3 separate regions of the Homo sapiens genome follow, and regions 2 and 3 are each linked to region 1. Evidence: promoter capture Hi-C in 16 types of primary human blood cells and fetal thymus (Javierre and others, 2016). All regions are on one chromosome and are shown on one strand. The core of a region is centred on a gene start or on the middle of the fragment in contact, and the rest is flanking DNA. Distances in the headings are between cores, read along the strand shown.

Region 1 (3,159 bases), core at 436-2,935:
GTTACTGAGCAGCACCCTTGTTGACCTCCTTCCTATTTTGTCTGTATATCATAGTAAGGTTTATATATTTCACTTAAAATGAAGAAATATTAATTCTGGGTAAAGCATGTCAAGTTAAGTATGTCTTTTGTAATCCTGAGAGTGACCACTAAAATAACTATACAAATAGATACAGTTAAGAAACATAATAGATACGTTGAAATGCAATACCAAAAAATAATTTCAAATAACCAACAAGAAAGCAGAAAATGGGAAATAGGAGAATTAAAACCAGAGAGAAAAGAAGCAAATAACAAAATGGCAGATCTGATTTTAAAAATCAATAGCTACATAAAATGAAAATAATTTAAACACACCCATTAAAAGATGTGCATTGTCAAATTGGATTTTAAAAACCAAACTCATGACTCTATTATATGCCATCTACAAGAAACTCACTTGAAATACAATTTAGAGCTGGGTATAGTGGCATGTATCTGTAGTTTCAGCTACTCAGGAGTCTGAGATGGGAAGATCACTTGAACCCAGGAGTTCAAGTCCAGCCTTGGCAACATAGCAAGACCATCATCTTAAAAAAATAATAACAAACACAGACGCACACACACACATACACACACACGCATACACATATAATATGAATGTGATGTTTGGCAGGGCCAACAGAATTGAGATCATAACTGCCACTCTGAAAGCATATAGTGTGTGTGTGTGTGTGTGTGTGTGTAGATAAAAATAAACGGATGAAAACAAAATACCACGAAAACAATAATCACAGGAAAGTAAGAATGGCTATATTATTAATATGAAACAAAGTAGACTTTAGAACACAAAAGTTACTAGAGATAAAGATTAACATTACATAATGATAAAAGGGTCAATTCACCAAGAAGACATAACAATTCCAAATGTTGCAAAATACATCAGGCAAAACATGATAGTTTTAAAGGGAGAAATTTGAAAGTCCCTAAGTTTTGTTAAAATCTTCAACATTCCTCTCTTAGTAATCAACAGAACTAGGAGACAGAAAATTAGGAAAAATATAGAAAAAACTGAACAATATCATCAACCAACTAAATGTAATAGATATTATATAATATTCCACTCAACACCAAAAAACTATACAACTTTTCAAGTGCCTATGGAATATCTGCCAAGATAGATCATATCCTGGGTCATCAAATAAGCCTTAACAAATTTGACATACAAAATATTTTTTCTGAGTATAATTGAACTTCTGATTTAAAATTAAATCAATAACCAAAAGATAAGAAAATCTTCAGACACTTGGAAATTAAGCACATTTCTGATTAATCCGTGGGTCAAATAAATTGGAAAATAGTCTGAACTGAGTGAAAATGAAGCTGGGAAGCAGAGGAATGAAAATTTTGATTATCTAGGTAAAGCTGTCAATTAAGCAGACTAGAGCTCTGGGTAGAGAGAAGAGCTTTTCTCTGATTAAGCTGTTTACTTTCTCATGGCTTAAAGACAGCACTTTAAATTTTGGTATTAGCCACAATAATCTTGGACGTAAAAGAGAAATTGCTCCCTATAATATGATATAGCCAGGCAACCCAGTATAAATGCCACTGCTCTGCAGGAACTGGCCGAATATCAATGAGAAGACAAACAGTCCAAGCATGATGACGTGAATGTGATGTTTGGCAGGGCCAACAGAATTGAGATCATAACCTCCACTCTGAAAGCAGTCTTCACAGAAACTTTTCACAGAAGTCAAATAGTTAAAGCAAATTCTAGATACATGGTAGAGACCAGGAGAAAATATGAATAACTTTCTTCTAAACAAGGAGCTCAGTGGATAAACCATACCTCTAGATTCCTTGCTTCCATTTTCCCAGAAGTAAGTTCACTGTATTTTTTCTGTTTTGTTTTGTATTTTGCTTTTGTGTGTGAGTTTGTTTCAGAGGTTTTGTCTTTTCTTATTCCTATCACAAAATTATAAATAAACCTTTATAAACTGAATGACAATCATCTATGCAGAAATTATTTTGAAAAATATTGGGCTACTTTAAAGATTTTATATCTGGTAATTAATATTAGATAAATAAAAACATTGAGTTAGAATGTTTTTTAAAAAATTATGCAAACATTATGTTGTTTTAAACATAACTGAGTGTAGAAATAAGTTTAAATTGGCTAAAAATTTTTTGTGAAGAGCTTAGAGTTTTAAGAATTGGGTTGGAAGACTGAGTTGTTTTTGAAGTTAAAGTTATCTACTTTGATTGCACAATAATGTAGGGCATTTTGGATAAGTGTTCTTCTGACTTTAAGACTGTTTACCAAGAGCACTTACAGAAATATTTTTATTGTTCCTATCGCTCACTCTTAGTCTATAAGAATTTTAGAAATGTAAGATTCTTTCTAGGATCTTTTACTCGTTGGATACAGTGAGTTGAATCAGAATGTGAAATATGTAGCTTCTCTTTACCACAATGTTATTTAAAATGTACATTGGTAAAAAGAATTTTCATACTCCTATAGTGAATACATGTTGTTCTGAATTTTACAACAGTATAAGAGGATAAAAATGAGTCATTACAATTTGAGACTATTTGCCATATGTATAATAAAGTATTCATGTTTTTGCTAGCCTTTACATAAACTGCAGAACATACAAAAATTGGAAAGAAACAAAGTTGGCAATAATACTTTACGATGGAAGATATAAGGGATTGGAGTCAGACTGGAGTTTGCATGCTACCTAAGACTGTAGCTGATTCCATAGTGAGGAGATCATCCTCTTGGCCAATGTCTATTAACTTCGCCAGTGAATTATGCATTTCTGTAGAGAAGCTGTGATATATTTGGGCTTGTGCATGAGGTGGAGTGTAGGGAAACATCACACTCTGGGGACTGTTGTGGGGTGGGGGGAGGGGGGAGGGATAGCATTGGGAGATATACCTAATGCTAGATGACGAGTTAGTGGGTGCAGCGCACCAGCGTGGCACATGTATACATATGTAACTAACCTGCACAATGTGTACATGTACCCTAAAACTTAAAGTATAATAATAAAACGAAAAAAAAAAAAGAAATTCCTCCTGTACAGAGCTTGCATTGGCGGCAGCTGCTTTAAGAACCCAGAAACTTTTGCCCTCTCTGTAGGCTAGCTCACTGTGAAAATATCCCATGGATTTTACC
Region 2 (3,159 bases), core at 453-2,952, 300 kb before region 1:
GGTTATCTGTAAAAATAATGTGCATGGTGAAATTTTCATAGACACATGTAGACACACGCATATACAGTATTTCTGCTTTTGTAATGCTTACATGCGTGAGTTATTTGTCTACCAACTTAATGGAAGACAGTTTTATTAGCTTCAGGAGATATGGGAGCTTGTTTTGACCTGCCATCAGCTAGTCTTTTATTATAAGCATGTCACTGACCACTTTGTGGATACTTCACAAAACTACCCTGATCCCATTTCCTGCTTCTCTCCCCTTGCTTACTTTATGCCAGCCACACTAACTCATTGCTTTCCTGGAAAATGCCAGGCATACTCTTTTCTTTGGGTTTTTGCCCAAGATGTTTTCTTTGTTTGGCTATACCTTATACCCTAGAAATACATATACTAAATTCACTTACCTCTTTGGCTCAAATGTCACCTTCCAGTGAAGCTCCCTGATCATTAGAATTACATCTTGCTTTTTCATCCAACTCTGTATTACCCTTTCTGACCAAGTCTCTGAACTCTGACTTAGCTTTATATGTCCTTCCATCATCAAACATCAAAAAGGAGTAAAACATCTGGGCGGGTGCAGTGGCTCATTCCTGTAATCCCAGCACTTTGGGAGGCTGAGGCAGGAGGATCACTTGAGCTCAGGAATTCAAGACTAGCCTGGGCAACGTAGTGAGACATCTTCCCTCCTAAAATTCAAAAAAGAAAAAAGCAATAGCCAGGCATGGTGGCACATGTTTGTAGTCTCAGTTACTTAGTGATAATAATAATAATGACAATAAAGGAGTACAAATCTGACTTGATATTAGTCTGGCTGTAGGAAGGGGTTTTAATTAATGTACTTGCCACTTCCTTCACAGTGTAAATTAAGCAAAATAATAAAAATTGGTTTGTGTTTCTATAGGTATTTTTAGGAGATTATTCTTCAGAGACAAGTGAAGATGATGATTCACTGAAGTGTATGGGTTACTGTCCTCAGATAAACCCTTTGTGGCCAGATACTACATTGCAGGAACATTTTGAAATTTATGGAGCTGTCAAAGGAATGAGTGCAAGTGACATGAAAGAAGTCATAAGTCGGTAAAATAATTGTCTTTAGATTCCTTTTGTTACTTAGAGGAAAGGTTTGCATTTCATATTTTTAAAATTTCATAACAAGCATTTCTGTGGACAATGATTTTTATAGAAAATGTTTATTACTTTTTCATATATTCTTTATGATATATGAAAATATACTGATAGCTGTAAATTATGATAGTTATAAAAAGGTCATTTTTTAATTTCTAGTTACAGGATAAATATACCTATAGATATCATGAAACTTATTTTAATTCAAAGTGAACCATTTTATCAAGATATTAATTTATTTAAAATGATGTAAATTGGAGACTTTTGCCCTTACCTACTTATAATAAGCTTCGACTAAGTAACTATTCTAGAGAAAACAACATCAGGGATCACACCCAGTTGGTATTTGTGTTTATATATATCATGGTATTCTCATTTTGTATTGTTCATTTTGCAGAATAACACATGCACTTGATTTAAAAGAACATCTTCAGAAGACTGTAAAGAAACTACCTGCAGGAATCAAACGAAAGGTACTTTCATTAAACACCAAATAATGCCTGTATTTTTATTGATAGTTTAGTACCTGATATTGTCTTGATAGATTCCTTATAGTGAACCTTTGTTAATTTCCCACCCATCTTTTTCTTTCCATGTAGTTGTGTTTTGCTCTAAGTATGCTAGGGAATCCTCAGATTACTTTGCTAGATGAACCATCTACAGGTATGGATCCCAAAGCCAAACAGCACATGTGGTGAGTATGGTACTTGTGACACAGTACATGATACTTTAGAATAGAACAGTTTCTTTTATTATAATAGTTTAATGTTAGTTATATGTACATCTTGATTTTAAATCCTATTCAAACGATACACTAGTAATTAAAAATTAAATAGATTTAGAGATTTCCTTAAGCTTTTAAAACTTTGCATATTTTTCATGAAGTGTTCATAATATTTTACATATTCCGAAACAGAAATAAGCATGAGTCATTATTAAGATAAAGAGTTCTAGTGTTCTGAATAGTTTTTAAGTTTTTTTCTAGTCATTTAGCATACAAATGATCTTTTCCATAATAATAGTGTCTTAAATTTATGTTGAGACTCTTTCTAGGACAGTCATGCATTGCCTAATGACAGAGATACATTCTGAGAAAGGTGATGTTGTCGTTGTGCAAACATAATAGAGTGTACTTATATAAATCTCTGGGTGGTTATAGCCTACTACACACCTAGACTATATGGTATAGCCTATTACTCCTAGGCTATAAATCTGTAGAGCATGTCACTGCACTGAATACTGTAGGCAGTTGTAACACAATGGTATTTGTGTATCTAGATGTATCTAAACACAGAAAAGATACATTATAAAAGTATTATAATCTTATGGAATCACTGTTGGAAATGTGTTTCATCATTGACTGAAATGTCATTATGCAGTGCCTGTAAAGTACTAATTAGTTGAACAACTCTTTTTTTTTTTTTTTTTTTGAGTCAGAGTCTTGTTCTGTTGACCAAGCTGGAGTGCAGTGGTGCCGTCTTGGCTTACTGCAACCTCTGCTTCCCAGGCTGAAGCGATTCTCCTGCCTCAGCCTTCCAAGTACCTGGGACTACAGGCAAGAGCCACCAAGCCCGGCTAATTTTTTGTATTTTTGGTAGAGACAGGGTTTCACCATGTTGGCCAGGCTGGTCCCGAACTCCAGACCTCAGGTGATCCGCCCCCTTCGGCCTCCCAAACTGCTGGGATTACAGGTGTGAGGCACAGTGCCTGGCCTTGAACAACTCTTTAAGCCTCAACTTCCATGTCTATAAAATGTAAGGTTTGGTTTGGATGCATGTTACGGTTTTCTTATGATTCAAAGCCTGTTTTGGTTATAACATGAAAAGGCATCAATTTTAAAATTTATTTGTTGTCATACTTTTAGCCCATATTAACATTTGAAATCATAGATTTTTTTTTTCCATTTGACAAGCTTTCAAAATGAAGGGAAAATAAATTAGAATATAAAAGTCATGGCCTGGCGCAGTGGCTCACGCCTGTAATCCCAGCACTTTGGGAGGCTGAGGCAGCAGACCACGAGGTCAGGAGATC
Region 3 (3,159 bases), core at 322-2,821, 260 kb before region 1:
TCTTAGGAGGTGATACTTTGCCTGTCATCCTCAGAGAAAACAAAAGCTGTCACATGGGAATATCTCCCAACTTCTAACATAAACCCTGTAAAACTACAGACCTATGACCCCCTACACACATTCTCTTTCTTCATCCCTAATGTCTTTCCTCAGTTCATGGTCTGGATCCCATCCCTCCCAACTTCATCAGCAAAGTTCAACTATGGACTTTTGTTTTTGTCTCCTCTTTTCAATCTCTGCCTTTCTGCTAGATTCTTCTCTTCAGGATTTAAAATTAATTTCTTCACTTATGGTCAAGACCTTCCTTTATCCACTTTCCTCTTCACACAACTACCCTAACTTCCTTCTATTAATGGCTAAGTTTCTTGAAAGGGTTGTCCTCCTTTGACTCAACTCAACTCAATATTATCTATCCCTACCACACCATCAAAAGGGCTTTTTCTAAGGTAAATAACAACTTCCATGTCAATTAACAGCTTCTTTATTCCTCACCTTACTTGATATTTCAACTAAATAACATAGATTCACCTGATTTCCCTTCTCCATTTCTAGCCTTTCCCTCTCAGTCTTCTTGCCAACTTATCTCCCCTTACACTCCTACATCTTTCTATCTGTAGTTCCACAAAGTTCTATCTCAGGCATCTCTTTCTATCCCATATGTTTTCTCTAGATGGTCTCATTTATTCCCGTACTTCTCATTATAATTTATATGCTGATGACTCCAAGAACTCTAACTTGTAGACTAGCAACATTTTTCTGTAAAGGACCACACAGTAAATATTTTAGGCTCTGGGGGCCAAATGTGTTGTAACTGTTCACCTCTGCTGTTGTAGTATGAAAGCCGCTGTAGATAACACAAACAAATGAGTGTGCCTGTGTTCAATAAAATGTTATATACAAAAACAGGTGGTGGGTCAGATTTGGTCTGGGAACTAAAGTTTGCTGACCTCTAAAGGAGCTAGGGACTAAAAGAGCTAGACGTCTGCTCTAGCTCCATGTATCTGACTGTGTGCTGGATACCTCTACTTTGATGTCTCAAGCAATTCAAACTTAGTATGCGCAAAAATGAACATGGATGTTTTTCTGTAAATGTGACTGAGTCTTATAAAATTTTCCCTATCTCAGTGAATGCTAAAACCACCTAGCTGAGTAAAAGGAACTGGGGATTATCAGAGAAAATTTTCTCTGTCTCACTCATCACATCCAATCTTTTACCTGGCCTCTTATTTCTAAGCTCAAATCTATGTACTTCAGTTCTGCCACCTGCACAAGGGCACATCTTTATCATATCTTGCCTAAACTATGGGAGTGGTTTATTTCTTCAGCCTTATCTACAGTCTATTTATTTGTTTTTGTGGCAGGAACCTCTTTTCTGTGCTCCAACGCACTATACACCTTCTTTCCTTTTCATATACTGTTTACTCTGCTCACAGTTTTCTTCTCCATCCTCAACCACCCCCCCTCCCCCAATCTTTGTTTAGGAAAGATCACAGCCTTCAACACTCAGTAAAAATGTCACTTCTTTAGGGAAGCCTTTCTTGATTTTCCTACACTTTTCTTTGAACATAGTTGCTCAATTGTAACTAAACAATTTATTATGCAATGATTTATTTAATATCTCTCCTTTCTTCTGCTGCGCTACAAAATGTAAATCTCTATGAGAATGAAGAGTGTTTCTGTTTGAATTGCTGCTGTTTCCCCATTACGTAGCACAGTATATTATGCATGACAGACCTTCAGTAATTTCTCAAATGACTCTTATAATTAATGTCAATTGGTATCAAAAGTTATTAAGATTGTTCTGATATTAATAGTTCATACTTTAAAATGATGAGAATATGTAAATATTGAAATCGAAAATAAAAAGTGTATAGTTTTCTAATATATTTTGTCTATAGTTCACATAATAAATTTGCTAATGTCCCAATTTAGGTCACAACAAATCATTCTGTAATGGAGGAGTTGACATCAGTTATTGGAATAAATATGAAGATACCACCTTTCATTTCTAAGGGAGAAATTATGAATGAATGGTTTCATTTTACTTGCTTAGTTTCTTTCTCTTCTTTTATATACTTTGCATCATTAAATGTTGCAAGGGAAAGAGGAAAATTTAAGAAACTGATGACAGTGATGGGTCTCCGAGAGTCAGCATTCTGGTAAGTTAAGTTGCTACTTTACTGTATATCATACATTAATTATTAGAGAAACTAACTAGGTTCTTAAAAAATTGGACGCACTCACAAGTTTTCTTGCACGTATTCAATTTAATCACCTTACTTGCATTAGAGTTTAAGATGCTTGCAGTAGAAAGTAAGTAAGGATTGTGCTTATGTTTCCCTGAGTTGAAGAAAAATATGTGATCATTACATATTGCCCGAAAAATGCCGCATAAAAACCACCCCAAACCCCACGACCTCAAGCAGCAATTATTTATTCTTTCTCATTTGTCTGCAGTATGGGTGGACTTTGGCAGATCTAGTCTGGGCTTGGCCAGGCTTGGATTCAAGGTACAGGTTAGATCCAGGTGTTCTTCCTGTGACTCACTTCCTTCTTGGGCCAGTAGGCTAGCTGGCCATGGTCTTCTCATTCAATCACAGAAACACAAGGGGGCAAGTCTCTCTGCACAAGCACATTTCAAGCTCCTGCTCACATCATATATAATAAAATCTCATTAAAGTAAGTCACATGGACAGAACTAAAGTCAAGAGGGGAAGAAGTGTGTTCTGCCCACCATGAGGTCAAAGCTAGTCAAAGTGACAACCTCACATTTAGTGACATGGGAAATTATGCTGCTTTTCATAACAGTGAGGAGCAGAAAAAAGTTCAAATAATTTTGGGCAATAAAGGAATTTACCACAGTGTCACTGAGGCCCGGTCACATAGTCTGTAAAAATGTTATTTGGTTGGAATTCATCAAACGGTATCAGGATTAAATGAGGCAATATGTTTAAATCACACAGCACAAACAGTGTTCGGTGTTTGTTAGTGCATGGTAAAAGACATCTCTCTCCATCTATATAGTCTATGCATTTATATATATATCTATGCTCTCCATCTATATAGTCTATGCATTTATATATATATCTATGCATTCATCCATTCCTTTAAGTATTGTCCCTTTTCCCCTAGACTTTGAGATAGTATACAATTATAGTA

What was found. The method cuts DNA at HindIII sites, captures the fragments that hold promoters and counts their contacts. A CHiCAGO score of 5 or more calls a contact.
Region 2: a fragment that was not itself captured here is called in contact with the fragment with the promoter of ABCA8 in region 1 in 1 of 17 cell types (M0 macrophages); the score reaches 5.0 in M0 macrophages.
Region 3: a contact is called between a fragment that was not itself captured here and the fragment with the promoter of ABCA8 in region 1, in 2 of 17 cell types (monocytes and M2 macrophages). The highest score is 7.2, in monocytes.

Annotation. Positions count from the first base shown.
Region 1 is chr17:68,953,918-68,957,076 of GRCh38, reverse strand. ABCA8 (ATP binding cassette subfamily A member 8) reads left to right here and starts at 1,685. Exons shown (of 40, transcript NM_001288985.2): 1 at 1,685-1,858. The HindIII fragment of the contact is 10,640 bases long and covers 1-3,159 here.
Region 2 is chr17:69,252,236-69,255,394 of GRCh38, reverse strand. ABCA5 (ATP binding cassette subfamily A member 5) reads left to right here. Exons shown (of 39, transcript NM_172232.4): 32 at 905-1,080; 33 at 1,526-1,601; 34 at 1,728-1,822. Among named protein-coding and RNA genes, the nearest start is that of PRO1804, 19 kb to the right of the region's middle. The HindIII fragment of the contact is 567 bases long and covers 1,419-1,985 here.
Region 3 is chr17:69,218,545-69,221,703 of GRCh38, reverse strand. It overlaps ABCA10 (ATP binding cassette subfamily A member 10), which reads left to right. Exons shown (of 39, transcript NM_001377321.1): 6 at 1,933-2,159. Among named protein-coding and RNA genes, the nearest start is that of ABCA10, 8.7 kb to the left of the region's middle. The HindIII fragment of the contact is 6,702 bases long and covers 1-3,159 here.